Regions from separate parts of the Homo sapiens genome. Here regions 1 and 2 are each linked to region 3. Evidence: promoter capture Hi-C in 16 types of primary human blood cells and fetal thymus (Javierre and others, 2016). All regions are on one chromosome and are shown on one strand. Each heading gives the region's core, a stretch centred on a gene start or on the middle of the fragment in contact. The rest is flanking DNA. Distances are from core to core; before and after follow the strand shown.

The links. Contacts are between HindIII fragments. The CHiCAGO score rates a contact against its expected background, and 5 or more counts as called.
Region 1: a contact is called between a fragment that was not itself captured here and the fragment with the promoter of FXYD4 in region 3, in 1 of 17 cell types (erythroblasts). The highest score is 5.3, in erythroblasts.
Region 2: a contact is called between a fragment that was not itself captured here and the fragment with the promoter of FXYD4 in region 3, in 1 of 17 cell types (naive CD8 T cells). The highest score is 5.1, in naive CD8 T cells.

What each region holds. Positions count from the first base shown.
Region 1 is chr10:43,448,389-43,452,798 of GRCh38, forward strand. All of the region lies in intron 1 of ZNF487 (zinc finger protein 487), which reads left to right. Among named protein-coding and RNA genes, the nearest start is that of ZNF487, 13 kb to the left of the region's middle. The HindIII fragment of the contact is 1,102 bases long and covers 1,164-2,265 here.
Region 2 is chr10:43,288,675-43,293,260 of GRCh38, forward strand. No RefSeq gene overlaps it. Among named protein-coding and RNA genes, the nearest start is that of RASGEF1A, 24 kb to the left of the region's middle. The HindIII fragment of the contact is 2,377 bases long and covers 1,715-4,091 here.
Region 3 is chr10:43,368,955-43,373,564 of GRCh38, forward strand. FXYD4 (FXYD domain containing ion transport regulator 4) reads left to right here and starts at 2,682. Exons shown (of 9, transcript NM_173160.3): 1 at 2,682-2,743; 2 at 3,773-3,818; 3 at 4,561-4,610. The HindIII fragment of the contact is 9,288 bases long and covers 1-4,610 here.

The sequences.
Region 1 (4,410 bases), core at 465-2,964, 78 kb after region 3:
GAATTGAAGATGGGGCATCAAGCATTCATTTCATCTCTTATTGAATTCTAATAATAAAAGTACAGTTGACCCTTAAACAAAATGGGTTTGACCTGTGTGGGTCTATGTATATGTGGATTTTTTTCTTTTTTAAGGAGATGGGGTCGGCTGGGTGCGGTGGCTCCTGCCTGTAATCCCAGCACATTGGGAGGCCGAGGCAAGTGGATCACTTGAGGCCAGGAGTTTGAGACTGACCTGGCCAAGATGGCGAAACCCTGTCTCTACCAAAAATATAAAAAATTAGCTGGGCGCGGTGGCGCACACCTGTAGTCCCAGCTATCGGGGAGGCTGAGACAGGAGAATCGCTTGAACCTTGGAGATGGAGGTTGCAGTGAGCCAAGATCTTGCCACTGTACTCCAGCCTAGGTGACAGAGGAAGACTCCGTTTCAAAAAAATAAATATATAAAAATAAAAAAAATGAGCTGGGCATTGTGGCAGATGCCCATAGTCCCAGCTACTGGAGAGGATGAAGCAGGAGGATCACTTGAGCAGGAGATAGAGGCTGTGGTGAGCTCTGATTGCATCACTGCACTCCAGGCTGGGTGACAGAGTAAGAACCTGTCTCCGAAAAAAAAAAAAAAAAAAAAAGGCTGGGTGCAGTGGCTCAGGCCTGTAATCCCAGCACTTTGGGAGGGTGAGCCAGGCAGATTGCCTGAGCTCAGGAGTTTGAGACCAGCCTGGGGGACATGGTGAAACCCTGTCTCTACTGAAATACAAAAAATTAGCAGGGCATGGCGGCGTGGGCCTGTAATCCCAGCTACTTTGGAGGCTGAGGCAGGAGAATCGCTTGAACCTGGGAGGCGAAGGTTGCAGTGAGCCAAGATTGTGCCACTGCACTCCAGCCTCAGCGACAGAGCGAGACTCTGTCTCCAAAAAAAAAAATCAACTGTATATCTAATGGTACTGAAAAGAGAGAAACCACAAGACACTGGTATATATTGACATACACAAGTCACAGAGAATAGAAATGGACTGGATGTTGAAGCACAGTGATGCATATATTATTATTCAAGTCAACTCACTATTTAAAGCTAATTTCATAGGAAAATTCTACTTAATTCAGTCTAACATTATGTAAGTAACCAAGGAAGAGTTAACAGCTGTGTTACAGAAGTGAACTATAAGCTTGTGAATTCAGTATTTAAAAAAAAATTCCTTTTCAGTATTTTGTAATGCTTCAACATGCATTTTGAGCTTATTTCTGTTTATATTGTTGTAATGTTCCTCAGCAGTTAACATGTATTGAAGCATTTTTTTTTTTTTTTTAATGAGACTGAGTCTCACTCTGTCGCCCAGTCTGGAGTGCAGTGGCACTATTTCAGCTCACTGTAACCTCCGCCTCCTGTGTTCAAGTGATTTTCCTGCCTCAGCCTCCCAAGTAGCTCGAATTACAGGCACCCACCACCACTCCTGGCTAATTTTTGTATTATTAGTAGAGACGGGGTTTCCCCATGTTGGCCAGGCTGGTCTCGAACTCCTGACCTCAGGTGATCCACCTGCCTTGGCCCCCAAAGTGCTGTGATTACAGGTGTGAGCCACCATGCCAGGCCTGAATGTTTACTTTTACTTTTAATGTAAGTTTTAATTTAAATACTGATACTTGATTCAGTTATTGGAAAACTTTTTTGTTTTGAGACGGAGTTTTGCTCTTTTTGCCCGGGCTGGAGTGCAATGGCACGTTCTTGGCTCACTGCAACCTCCGCCTCTCGGGTTCAAGTGATTCTCCTGCATCAGCCTCCCGAGTACCTGGGATTATTGGCATGTGCCACCACACCCGGCTAGGCTAATTTTGTATTTTTAGTAGATACAGGGTTTCTCCATGTTGGTCAGTTTGGTCTCGAACTCCCAACCTCAGGTGATCCATCCGACTTGGCCTCCCAAAATGCTGGGATTACAGGTGTGAGCCACCAAGCCCGGCCTCTTTTTTGCTTTGTTTTTTTTTGAGACGGAGTCTCACTCTGTTGCCCAGGCTGGAGTGCAATGGTGAGATATCGGCTCACCACAACCTCTGCATCCTGGGTTCAAGTGATTCTGCTGCCTCAGCCTCCTGAGTATCTGGGATTACAGGAATGTGCTACCACACCTGGCTAATTTTTTGTATTTTGAGTAGAGACGGGGTTTCACCATGTTGGCCAGGAGTTCGACTCCTGACCTCAGGTGATCTGCCCGCCTCGGCCTCCCAAAGTGCTGGGATTATAGGCGTGAGCCACCATGCCCAGCCGGAAAGCTTTTAAGTGCCCAGAATAATTTGGGTGTGTGAATGCCTTTTTATCCATAGTAAATTTAATAAAATCTAATTATAGATCAAGTATTTCTGATGTAAATTTAGCATCTAAATTTAAGTGGCTGTGAAGTATAAAATAACAGTAGATACCAATGACTTAGAAGAAAAAAAAGCCTTGACATCTCTATTTCCTCGTCTCTAAAGGTGATAACACTTGCACTATGGTGATCCTACTAGTAATACATTTGGAGCCACGTTGTAAACTTCAGAGTTTGCACCATTATTATTATTTTTTTATTATTATTATTTTTTGAGATGGAGTTTCGCTCTTGTTGCCCAGGCTGGAGTGCAATGGCGCGATCTTGGCTCACTGCAACCTCCATCTCCCAGGTTCAAGGATTCTCCTGCCCCAGCCTCCCTAATAGCTGGGATTACAGGCATGTGCCACCACGCCCAGCTAATTTTGTATTTTTAGTAGAGACGGGGTTTTTCCATGTTGGTCAGACTGCTTGTGAACTCCCGACCTCAGGTGATACGCTTGCCTCGGCCTTCCAAAGTGCTGGGATTACAGGCGTGAACCACCATGGATGGCCTATTATTATTATTATTAGAGATGGAGTTTTGCTCTTGTTGCCCAGTCTGGAGTGCAATGGTGCGATCTCAGCTCACTGCAAACTCCACCTCCTGGATCCAAGTGATTCTCCTGCCTCAGCCTCCTGAGTAGCTGGGATTACAGGTGTGCGCCACCAGGCCTGGCTAATTTTGTATTTTTAGTAGAGACGGGGTTTCACCATGTTGGTCAGGCTGGTCTCGAAGTCCTGATCTCAGGTGATCCACCCGCCTTGGCCTCCCAAAGTGCTGGGATTATAGACTTGAGCCACTGTGCCTGGCCAAAGTTTGCACCATTATTATTATTATTATTTTTCTTTTGAGATGGAGTTTTGCTCTTGTTGCCCAGGCTGGAGTGCAATGGCGTGATCTCGGCTCACTGCAGCCTCCACCTCCCGGGTTCAAGCAGTTCTCCTGCCTCAGCCTCCTGAGTAGCTGGGATTACAGGCATGGGCCACCACGCCTGGCTAATTTTGTATTTTTAGTAGAGACGGGGTTTCTCCATGTTGGTCAGGCTAGTCTCGAACTCCCGACTTCAGGTGATCCTCCTACCTCAGCCTCGCAAAGTGCTGGGATTACAGGCGTGAGCCACCGCACCTGGCCAGTTTGCACCATTATTATGGGAGCACTTGCAAAGCCTGCCAGTTGATGGTAGGGTGGAAAAGAAGAGGACAACTAGAAGAGAGTTCCTACACCGCAAAGTAAACTTTGCTGGCTCTGCGAGGAGCAGGAAACCTGCATGATGAGAACAAGGACTGGGTGGCACTGCAGGAAATGCTCAATTCGAGTTTCACTTCCTGTGTTATCACTTTTTCTTTGCTGCAATTTCATCTTTGTTGGTCAATTCTCTTTTAATTTTCCATTTTTTTACATTCTATGTAAATGTAGTTTTTATGAACTAGAGAGTCTGACTCCATATTTTATCTTTGACTACTGTCAGCTCTCAAGCCCCACCTCTTCCCTCCCCTTCTGTCCCACACCTGGATGGCTGATTCAAAAGCCCAGGTGCTTCCTCTTTTGGCTCTAAAGGCAAGTTCAAGCCATGCAGGCCCCAGCATGTGCATTGGAGCCTTCATTTCCCCCCCACTCCTTAACCTTAATAACACCCAAAGCCAGTCTCTCTTCCCTGCTCTCAAGCCATTTTTTTTTCTTCTTTTTCTGGAGACAGGGTCTTGTGTCACCCAGGCTGGCGTGCAGGGCCCTGATCACAGCTGCCAGTAGCTGGAACCACGGGGGTGTGCCACCACGCCTGGCTAATTTTTTAATTTTTTTTTTGTAGAGATGAGGAGTGCCACTGTGTTGCCCAGGCTGGTCTCAAAACTCCTGAGCTCAAGTGATCCTCTCTTGGCTTGGCCTCCCAAAATGCTGGGGTTACAGGCATGAGCCATTGCACCCAGCCTTAAGCTATTTTTGAACCCATTTGGGATTCATCCCTGTTCTCCCCAGAAAGCCTCATGTGAGTCATAAGCCTTTACATATTCTCTCTGTGCATGTGGGGCTGTCACCAGTTTTGAAAAACCAGGTTTTGGGTGGGGAA
Region 2 (4,586 bases), core at 1,653-4,152, 80 kb before region 3:
AAAAATTAAAAGACTGAAAATTTATGAATAAATTTAACAAAAGAAGTGCAAAACTTGTACACTGAAAACTATAAACACAGTTGGGAGAAATTAAAGAACACTTAAATAAATGGAAAGACATCCACATTCATGGATTGGGAGACTTAATATGGTTAAGACGGCAATACTTCTTAAAGATCTCTGGGTTCACAGAATCCATATCAGAATCCCAGGTGAATTCTCTGCAGAAAGTTACAAGCTGTTCTGAAAATTCATATGAAAATTCAAGGAACCCAGGATAGTTAAAAAAATCTTCAAAAAGAAGAACAAAGTTGGATGACTCACAATTCCTGATTTGAAAACTTACTACAAAGCTACAATAATCACCAGGTGTAGTGGCTCACAGCTACAATCCCAGCACTTTGGGAGGCCGAGGCAGGAGGATCACTTGAGTCCAGGAGTTCAAGACCAGCCTGGTCAACATAGGGAGACCCTGTCACTAAAACTAATTTAAAAAGTAGCCAAGTGTGGTGGTGTGCACCTGTGGTCCCAGCCACTTGGTAGGCTGAAGAAGGAGGATCGCCTCAGCCAGGGAGGTCGAAGCTGCAGTGAGCTGTAATCCAGTGCCACTGCACTCCAGCCTGAGTGACAGAGCAAGACCCTGTCTCAAAAAAATAAATAAAATAAAATAAAATAACTTTTAAAAGAACACCAAAACAAGCCAGGCTTGGTAGTACATGACCATAGTCCCAACTACACAGCAGGCTGAGGCAGGAAGATCACTTGAGCCCAGGAGTTGGAGGAGTCGTATGCAATGATCACACGTGTGACAATAGCCACTGCACTCCAGCCTAGACAACACAGAGAGACCTTGTCTAAAACAAACAAACAAACAAAACCCAAATAGAAATTACCAACCACTTAGAAATGGGTGACAGAACAGAATATTCCACTTTTTAAACTTGTGAAATGTTTCAAAGCAATATCCACAGAAAATGTAGAAGCCTTAATACGTTTATTAGAGAAAAGGAAGATTAAAAATAAATGAACTACTATCTTAGTTCAAAAACAGGAACACTAACATTAAAATAACCCAATAAAGTTGAATAAAGTGATTGATAGAGAAAAAAGCAAGGCTGAGTGCGGTGGCTTATGCCTGGAATCCCCCTACCCCTCACCTGTGAGGAGGTGGATGGATCACTTGAGCCCAGGAGTTTGAGACCAACCTGGACAACATAGTGAAGCCCTGTCTCTACTAAAATACAAAAATTAGCCAGTCGTGGTGGCGGGCGCCTCTAATACCCGCTATTTGGGAGGCTGAGGTGGGAGAATGGCTTGAACCTAGGAAGCAGAAGCTGCAGTGAGCCAAGATCGTGCCACCGCACTTCAGCTTGGGCAACAGACCAAGACCCTACCTCAAAAAACAAACAAACAAACAAACAAACAAACAAAAAAACAAAAATGAAAAAACAGAGAAAAAAGTAGAAAGTCATGAAATAGAAATAAATGGGAAAATTAGAAATTCAATAGGAAAAAAACTCACCCTCAGAATGGAGTGATGCTGTGAGTTTCGATGGAAGCAGGTGAGGCTCAGGGGTTTGCATGAGCGTTCCCAACCTGGGTAGTGCAACTTGGGCAGACGGTCAGGAGAAGAGAGAAAACACAGACAGATGATGTGGGGAAAGATGAAGTGGGTGAAGGAAATTAGTCTTCGTGGCCCAATATGTATGAGGAAAGCTTTGAAATCATAGGCATCATGGAAAAATGTATGGAAAAAATACAAATTATCAAAATGAGTGAGAAAACCCCAGTAGACTTAAGAACTACAGGGAAGGAAATGAACAAGAGAACACAAGGTTTATCGTAAAATGCAGTGTCATTTTTTCAGGCAATGTGACTTTCTACACTGTCTAGAAAATTGAACTAACAAACTATAAGAATAATTAGGACAAATTCAACTATGTGGCAAGATCTACACAAAGCCCTCCTAGCTATCAGCAATGATGAATTATAACATAGAAAAGAAAAATGTCATTCATGATAGCAACACTGTTACAGCACATAGAGGGGAAGCCCAACAAAAAATGAGCAGTACCAATGTGGAGAAGACTATAAAGTGTAGCATGTATTGCACGAATAGAGATATACTGTGTTCCTCAATGGAAGATTGAACATGGTACAAATGTCAGTTTTCCCCTAAATTAGTGTAGAATTTAAATTTGGCATCAATTACAATCAAACAGGATTTCCGCTATAAAACTGACAAGCCAATTAGAAATAGAAAATGTACAAAAAAAGACAAGTGTGAAAAAGAGAAGAATGCAGCAGAGATTCTCTGTGATACACAAAATATGCAATAAATGATTTTAATTGAAACAATATATAAAAATAAACATATAGCCAGCCTGGACAACATTGGAAGACCCCATCTCAGCCTAAAATAATAACAATAATAGAAATCATCTAGGTGTGGTGGTGTGCACACCTGTAGTCTGAGCTACTCAGGAGGCTGAGACAGGTGGATCGTTTGAGCCCAGGATTTTGAGGCTACAGTAAGCTATGATCACGCCACCACACTCCAGCCTGGGCAACAGAGTGAGACCACCTCTAAAAAAATTTAAAAAAATAATAATAAATAACATTTTAAAAAAGAATAAATATATAAAATACTCACTTTAAAAAAGAACAGTGTCCTGAAATAGGCCCATGCATTTAGTAACTTCCTATAAACTAAAAGAATGTGAAAATATAGGCTATTCAAAAAATGGTTCTGGGTTGACTCACTATATTTGTAACATAAGATAGAGAGCTATCTCACAACACTCAAACAATCCAGATGATGTATTAATCTAAACCATTGTAAGAAAATTATAAAACCTTCAACTCATAAAAAAAGAAAATTATAAAACTTAAAGAAAATATGCAAAAATATAAGTGAAGAAAATATAAAAGGATATATATTGAGGTAGAAAAGTCATTTCTTTTTTGAGATGGAGTCTTGCTCTGTCGCCCAAGCTGGAGTCCAGTGGCGCAATCTCAGCTCACTGAAACCTCCCGCTCCCGGGTGCAAGCGATTCTCCTGCCTCAGCCTCTCGAGTAGCTGGGACTACAGGTGTATGCCACCACCCCCGGCTAATTTTTGCATTTTTAGTAGAGACAGGGTTTCACTACGTTGGCCAGGCTGGTCTCGAACTCCTGACCTCAAGTGATCCACCCACCTTGGTTTCCCAAACTGCTGGAATTACAGGCGTGAACCACCACACCTGGCCAGCAGAAAAGTCATTCTTAAGACATGAATTATAAAAGCTACAAATGAAAGATTAATACATTTGACCACATCAAATTTAAAACAAAAATGTTCTATAGAATAAAAGACACTAGGCAAAGCAGGATAGCTCACACCTGTAATCCCAGCATTTAGGGAAGTTGAGGCAGGCAGATTGTTTGAGTCCAGGAGTTCAAGATCAGCCTGGGCAATATACCATCTCTACAAAAACTAGCAAAAAATAGCTGGGCATAGTGGCATGTGACTATAGTCCCAGCTACTCAGGAGGCTAAGGTGAGAAGATAGATTGAGCCCAGGAGGTTGAGGCAGCAGCGAACTATGATGGCACCACTGCACTCCAGCCTGGATGACAGAGAGAGTCCCTGTCTCAAAAACAAACATACAAAGACACTAATTGCAAACCTAAAAGGCAAGTTACAGTGTAGAGGAAACATTGGCCACAGCTATACCAGGAAAAACAATCCCTGATACACGATTAAGGAAAATTCAACAACTAAGTAGGGAGAGGACATAAACAAGCAAATCAAAGAAGAGGAAGCACAGGCAACTGGGATCCATGAAAACATGCGTAATCTCAAGACACAAGACACATTTTTCACTCGTCAGTTTGGCAAAAACTGTGAATTATGAAAATGTTTAGGATTGGTGGGGTGTAAATAGGTGCAGCATTTCTGGAGGGCAATTCGTCCATAGCTACTAATGTCCCCAGTGTCTAGCAACATGGAAAAGTGTAAATAAATGATCCCTATTCGGCAGTTTAGAAATGAGGTCGTCCTATATGCATTAATATGGATTACATTGCTAAGTGGAAAAAGCATGTCACAGAAGCTTGAATCCATGGGACACTTTTCATGTCATCCATTTGTGTTAACTCACAGATGAAGCTCAAATTACACAAAAGTGAATTAAGCAGAAGCCCTCAGGAGGGACGTACACTGGAGGGTTGCCCTGTCATCTCCAGGGAGGGCCCCAGGCTTGGTAGCGGAGAGCAGGTGGCCTCACGAGGACTGCTACTGCATTTGAATGATCTCCCTGCTTTAATTGACAGAACAGGTGTGTGTATTGTGCATACAACGGATTCCTGTGCTGTCTTCTCAGGTCACAGAATCCCAGGGAGACATAAGGAAGAGGCGAGGACTCAAATGCTCTGCCAATCATTGGGAGTAACTTGTCCCTAGGGCAGAAGAAAGAGCTGCCCTCTTCTGTCCCTAAAAACATGTTTCTCTTCCTTAATAATATCACGGGGTGGGGGGGAGCAGGGAGAGAGAGACTGAGCAAGAGGGAGGCGCCGGAGTCCCTTTCTGATTCTGAGACAGTAATG
Region 3 (4,610 bases), core at 1,432-3,931:
CATGCCTGTAATCCCAGCACTTTCGGAGTCCGAGGCAGGTGGATCACTTGAGGTCAGGAGTTTGAGACCAGCCTGGTCAAAGTAGTGAAACACTGTCTCTACTAAAAATAGAAAAAATTAGCTGGGCATGGAGGCTCGGGCCTGTAATCTCAGCTACTCAGGAGGCTGAGGCACAAGAATCACTTGAACCCAAAAGGCGGAGGTTATAGTGAGCAGAGATCGTGCCACTGCACTCTAGCTTGGGCAACAGAATGACTCTGTCTCAACAGAATGAGACTCTGTCTCAAAAAAATAAAAATAAAATAAATGATCCCAAACTTCTACATTTTACGTATTTATTGTGAGACAGGTCTCCCTCTGTCACCCAGGCTGGAGTGCAGTGGTGCTTTCTGGGCTCACAGCAGCCTTGACCTCCCATGCTGAAGCGATCCTCCCACCTCTGCTGGAGTATAGGTGTGTGCCACCACGCCAGGCTGTTTGTTCTATTTTTTTTTGTAGAGATGGGGTCTCGCTATGTTGCCCAGACTGGTCTCAAACTCCTGGGCTCAAGTGATCTGCCCACCTTGGCCTCCCAGAGTGTCAGGATTTAACCCCCACACTCCACCGAGACTTTAAAACTCTGACTTCCATTCTTCTCTTTTTTTCTTTTTTAAGATGGAGTCTCGCTCTGTCGCTGAGGCTGGAGTGCGGTGGCACGATCTCAGCTTACTGCAACCTCCGCCTCCCAGGTTCAAGCGATTCTCCTGCCTCAGTTTCCCAAGTAGCTGGGACTACAGGAGCGCGCCACCACGCCCGGCTAATTTTTGTATTTTTAGTAGAGACGGGGTTTCACCTTGTTGGCCAGGCTGGTCTTGAACTCCTGATCTCATGTTCTGCCCTCCTCAGCCTCCCAAAGTGCTGGGATCACAACCGTGAGCCACCGCCCCCAGCCATGACTTCCATTCTTTACCATCCTTACTTCCTGAGCAGGCCATCCTTAACCTTTACACTTAAATAAACTCCTTTAAACTAAAATCTAACCTGTTTGACTATTGTAGATTGACAGGCTAATGAGAGTATGAACCTCCAAAGACTTCTGTGAGGGCTAGGTGCAGTCATATATGCAATGAACTCAAGTAAACAGCTGGCTGAGGAAACACCGGGACGCCTCCTCTGTGCTAAGCCCCATGCAGCATGCACACAGACACAGGCCCACCTCAGCCTCCCAAAGTGCTGGGGTTACAGGCGTGAGCCGCCTTTCCCAACCAATATTTTATATTTTTACACAAGTGACAGCATCCTATTCAGACTGCCCTATACTTTTTTTCCACTTAAAAGTATGTCTGGGCCAGACATAGTGTCTCACACCTGTAATCCCAGCATTTTGGGAGGCCGAGGCAGTGGATCGCCTGAGGTCAGGAGCTCGAGACCAGCCTGCTCAACATAGCGAAATCCCATCTCTACTAAAAATACAAAAATTAGCTGGGCACAGTGGTGTGTGCCGGTAATCCCAGCTACTCGGGAGGCTGAGACAGAATTGCTTGAACCTGGGAGGTGGAGGTTGTGGTGTGCCAAGATCGAGCCACTGCACTCCAGCTTGGGCGACAGAGCGAAATTCCAGCTCAAAAATAAATATATAAATAAACAAACAAACCAACTAAACCATCATTGCCCTCCCCAGCCCTCCCAGCCCAGAGACCCCCATCCCTTGTCAGCCATCCCCCCTTACCTTCTGGACAGGGACAAGTGTCCCTCATTTGGAAAAGAATTAAGGAGGGGTAACAGCAGACTAGGGAGGCCTGGGGTCCTCCACACGCCTGTGTGGGGTGACTTTGGCCCCCAGCAACAAGGCAGGCCTGAGGTCTGCAGAGGGAGGCAGCCCACTCCTCAGCCGGGGGCGTCTATCCTCCTCCTGGCCCCATCCCTCACCTGTGGGGGAGGCTAAGTGGGTGTCAGGGCCCTGTCAGAGGGTGAGCCACCCCCGGGGGTGCCCATCGGCCACCAGCCTCCCTTCAGTAGACACCCAGCCCAAGTGACAGCAGTGGCATGGCACTGCTGAGCACAGGGAGCCTCAAGGTCAGTGCCTGGCTCCTGGTATCCTCCGTGGTCCCCAGGACACCCCCACACAGAGGTCCCAGAACCCCCAAAGCTGGCACAAGAGCCCAGGAACACCCTGCCCAGCACCCTCCAGGTCCCTCTTTTAGGATCTGGGTGAGCTAAAGAAGCCAAAAGAAAGGCTGGGCGCGGTGGCTCACGCTTGTAATCCTAGCACTTTGGGAGGCCGAGGTGGGCGGATTGCCTGAGCTCAGGAGTTGGAGACCAGCCTGGGCAACACATTGAAACCCCATCTCTACTAAAATACAAAAAAAATTAGCCAGGTGTGGTGGCGTGCACCTGTAGTCCCAGCTACTCGGGAGCCTGAGGCAGGGGAATTGCTTGAACCCAGGAGGCAGAGGTTGCAGTGAGCTGAGATTGCATCACTGCACTCCAGCCCGGGTGACAGAGTGAGACTCCATCTCAAAAAAAGAAAAAAAAAAAAAAAAAAAAAAAAAAAAGAAGCCAAAAGAGGGTCTTCGGCCCAGCCCGCCCCTCCCCAACAGCCCTGGGTGTGGCAGGGAGCCTGACCAGTTCCCTCCAGCCTGCGTCATGGAGCCCTGGGCGTGGCTGCAGGGTTTAAAGAGCCGACCCACGTGCCCAGCAGCCTCCTCAGATCCGTTCTCTGCGCTGCCAGCTCAGGTGAGCCCTCGCCAAGGTGACCTCGCAGGTGAGCAGGCGTCCACTTTGGGGCTGCTGGGTGAAGGGGGTGGGTGCCCAAGAATTCTGAGTAATGAGGAGCCTGTTGAGGGGTCTGAGGACAGATATGGCTGCAGCAGCCGCTTGAAGGCCTCCTGCTTTGCACCCACTATCATATGGATGGTGGGTTGGGGGTTGGAGGAAACAGAAGCCAGCCCTTGGCTAAAGAATATATGAGCTGGTGGGGTATACCTCTGGTCCCAACTGCTTGAGATACTCAGGTGAGGAGATCACCTGAGCCAAGAGAGTTCAAGGCTGCAGTGAGCCGAGATCACGCCACTGCTCTCCATCCTGGGTAACAGAGCAAGACCCTGTCTCAAAAAAAAAAAAAATAGTAATAATAATAATAATAAAATAAAAAATGTGACCTAGAGTTGAGACCCTCGTATTCCAGGAACTCCAGGTTGGTGAAGGTAGAGAGACCAGTGAAGGCTGGGGGAAGCCAGCTTTGGAGACTGCTCCTAGCCCAAGAACCGATGTTCAGAAGCAGTGCCTAACAGTCTCTCCCTCCAGTGCCTCCCTCCCACTGCAGAAGGACCATGTGTTTATTTATGGATGTATTTATTTATTTATTTTGAGATGGAGTCTCCCTCTGTTGCCCAGGCTGGAGTGCAGTGCCAGGATCTCGGCTCACTGCAACCTCCACCTTCCAGGTTTAAGTGATTCTCCTGCCTCAGCTTCCCAAGTAGCTGGGAATACAGGCGCCTGTCACCACACTCAGCTAATTTTTGTATTTTTAGTATAGATGGGGTTTTGCCATGTTGGCCAGGCTGATCTTGAACTCCTGACCTCAGGTGATCCACCCGCCTCAGCCTCCCAAAGTGCTGGGATTATAGGTGTGAGCCACTGCGCCCGGCCTATGGATGTATTTATTGTAACAGGTTTTTAGTGCTTACTGTGTGCTAGGCATAGTTCTTAGGCTTGACAAATAGTAGTTCACGTAATTCCATCGCTATAACCTTATGAGGTTGCTACTATTCTGATGATCCTCCTTTTACAGGACACTGGTGAAGGAGCAGTGAGGAACCTGCAGAGTCACACAGTTGGTAAGTTGCTAAGAAGGGACCCAGCCCAGACAGCTGGCCCTGGATCTGTGATCTCATCAGGAGGCCAGAGCTGGGTACAGCAGATGATGACAATGGCTTCAGTATTGAAAACTTGACCACACTAGGCTAACAATATGCAGAGGGCTGGGAGGGGGCCTGCGCTCAAAGACTCAGCCTCCCTAAGGACAAGTAAATGGGGTCCTGGCTACTTCCAACCTGAGGGGGAAATGTCATACCACAGGAGGTCTATACTCTGAGAGCAGAATCTGGGTCTGCTGGAGTAGGGTCCCCTGCCAGGGCTGGCAGGGGAGGTCCTGGCTGCTGCAGTCATCTCATCCCAGGACTCAGCACTCCCTCCCTCCTCCACACCCTTGCTTTTGTGGAGGCTCTCTGGGAATTCAGACTGAGGGTGCTGGACTCTGGCCACCCCAGGCCCAGACCTTTGGGAACAATAGCCTGGGGCCTGATAACAATGCCCTTTGTGTGGGGTTAGGAAGGCAGGCTCCAGACCCTGACTTAGAATAGCAGCCACCTGACCCTGGGCATCTGATTACACCTCTCTAAGCTCCATTTTTTTTTTTCTTCTCTGAAATAGAGACAATAATAGTATCTTCCTCATGGGGAGGAGTAGGGGGTGGGTTTGTCGCATGGATTTTAACAACGCCTTCTACAGCACTTACTCTGTGCAGGCACAGTTTTGAGCTCTTAGCTTGTGCTTACTCAATCCACACAACTCCCCCAGGCCACCACCATCTCTAGATGGGAAGACAGAAAGTAGTTACTTTCCCAAGA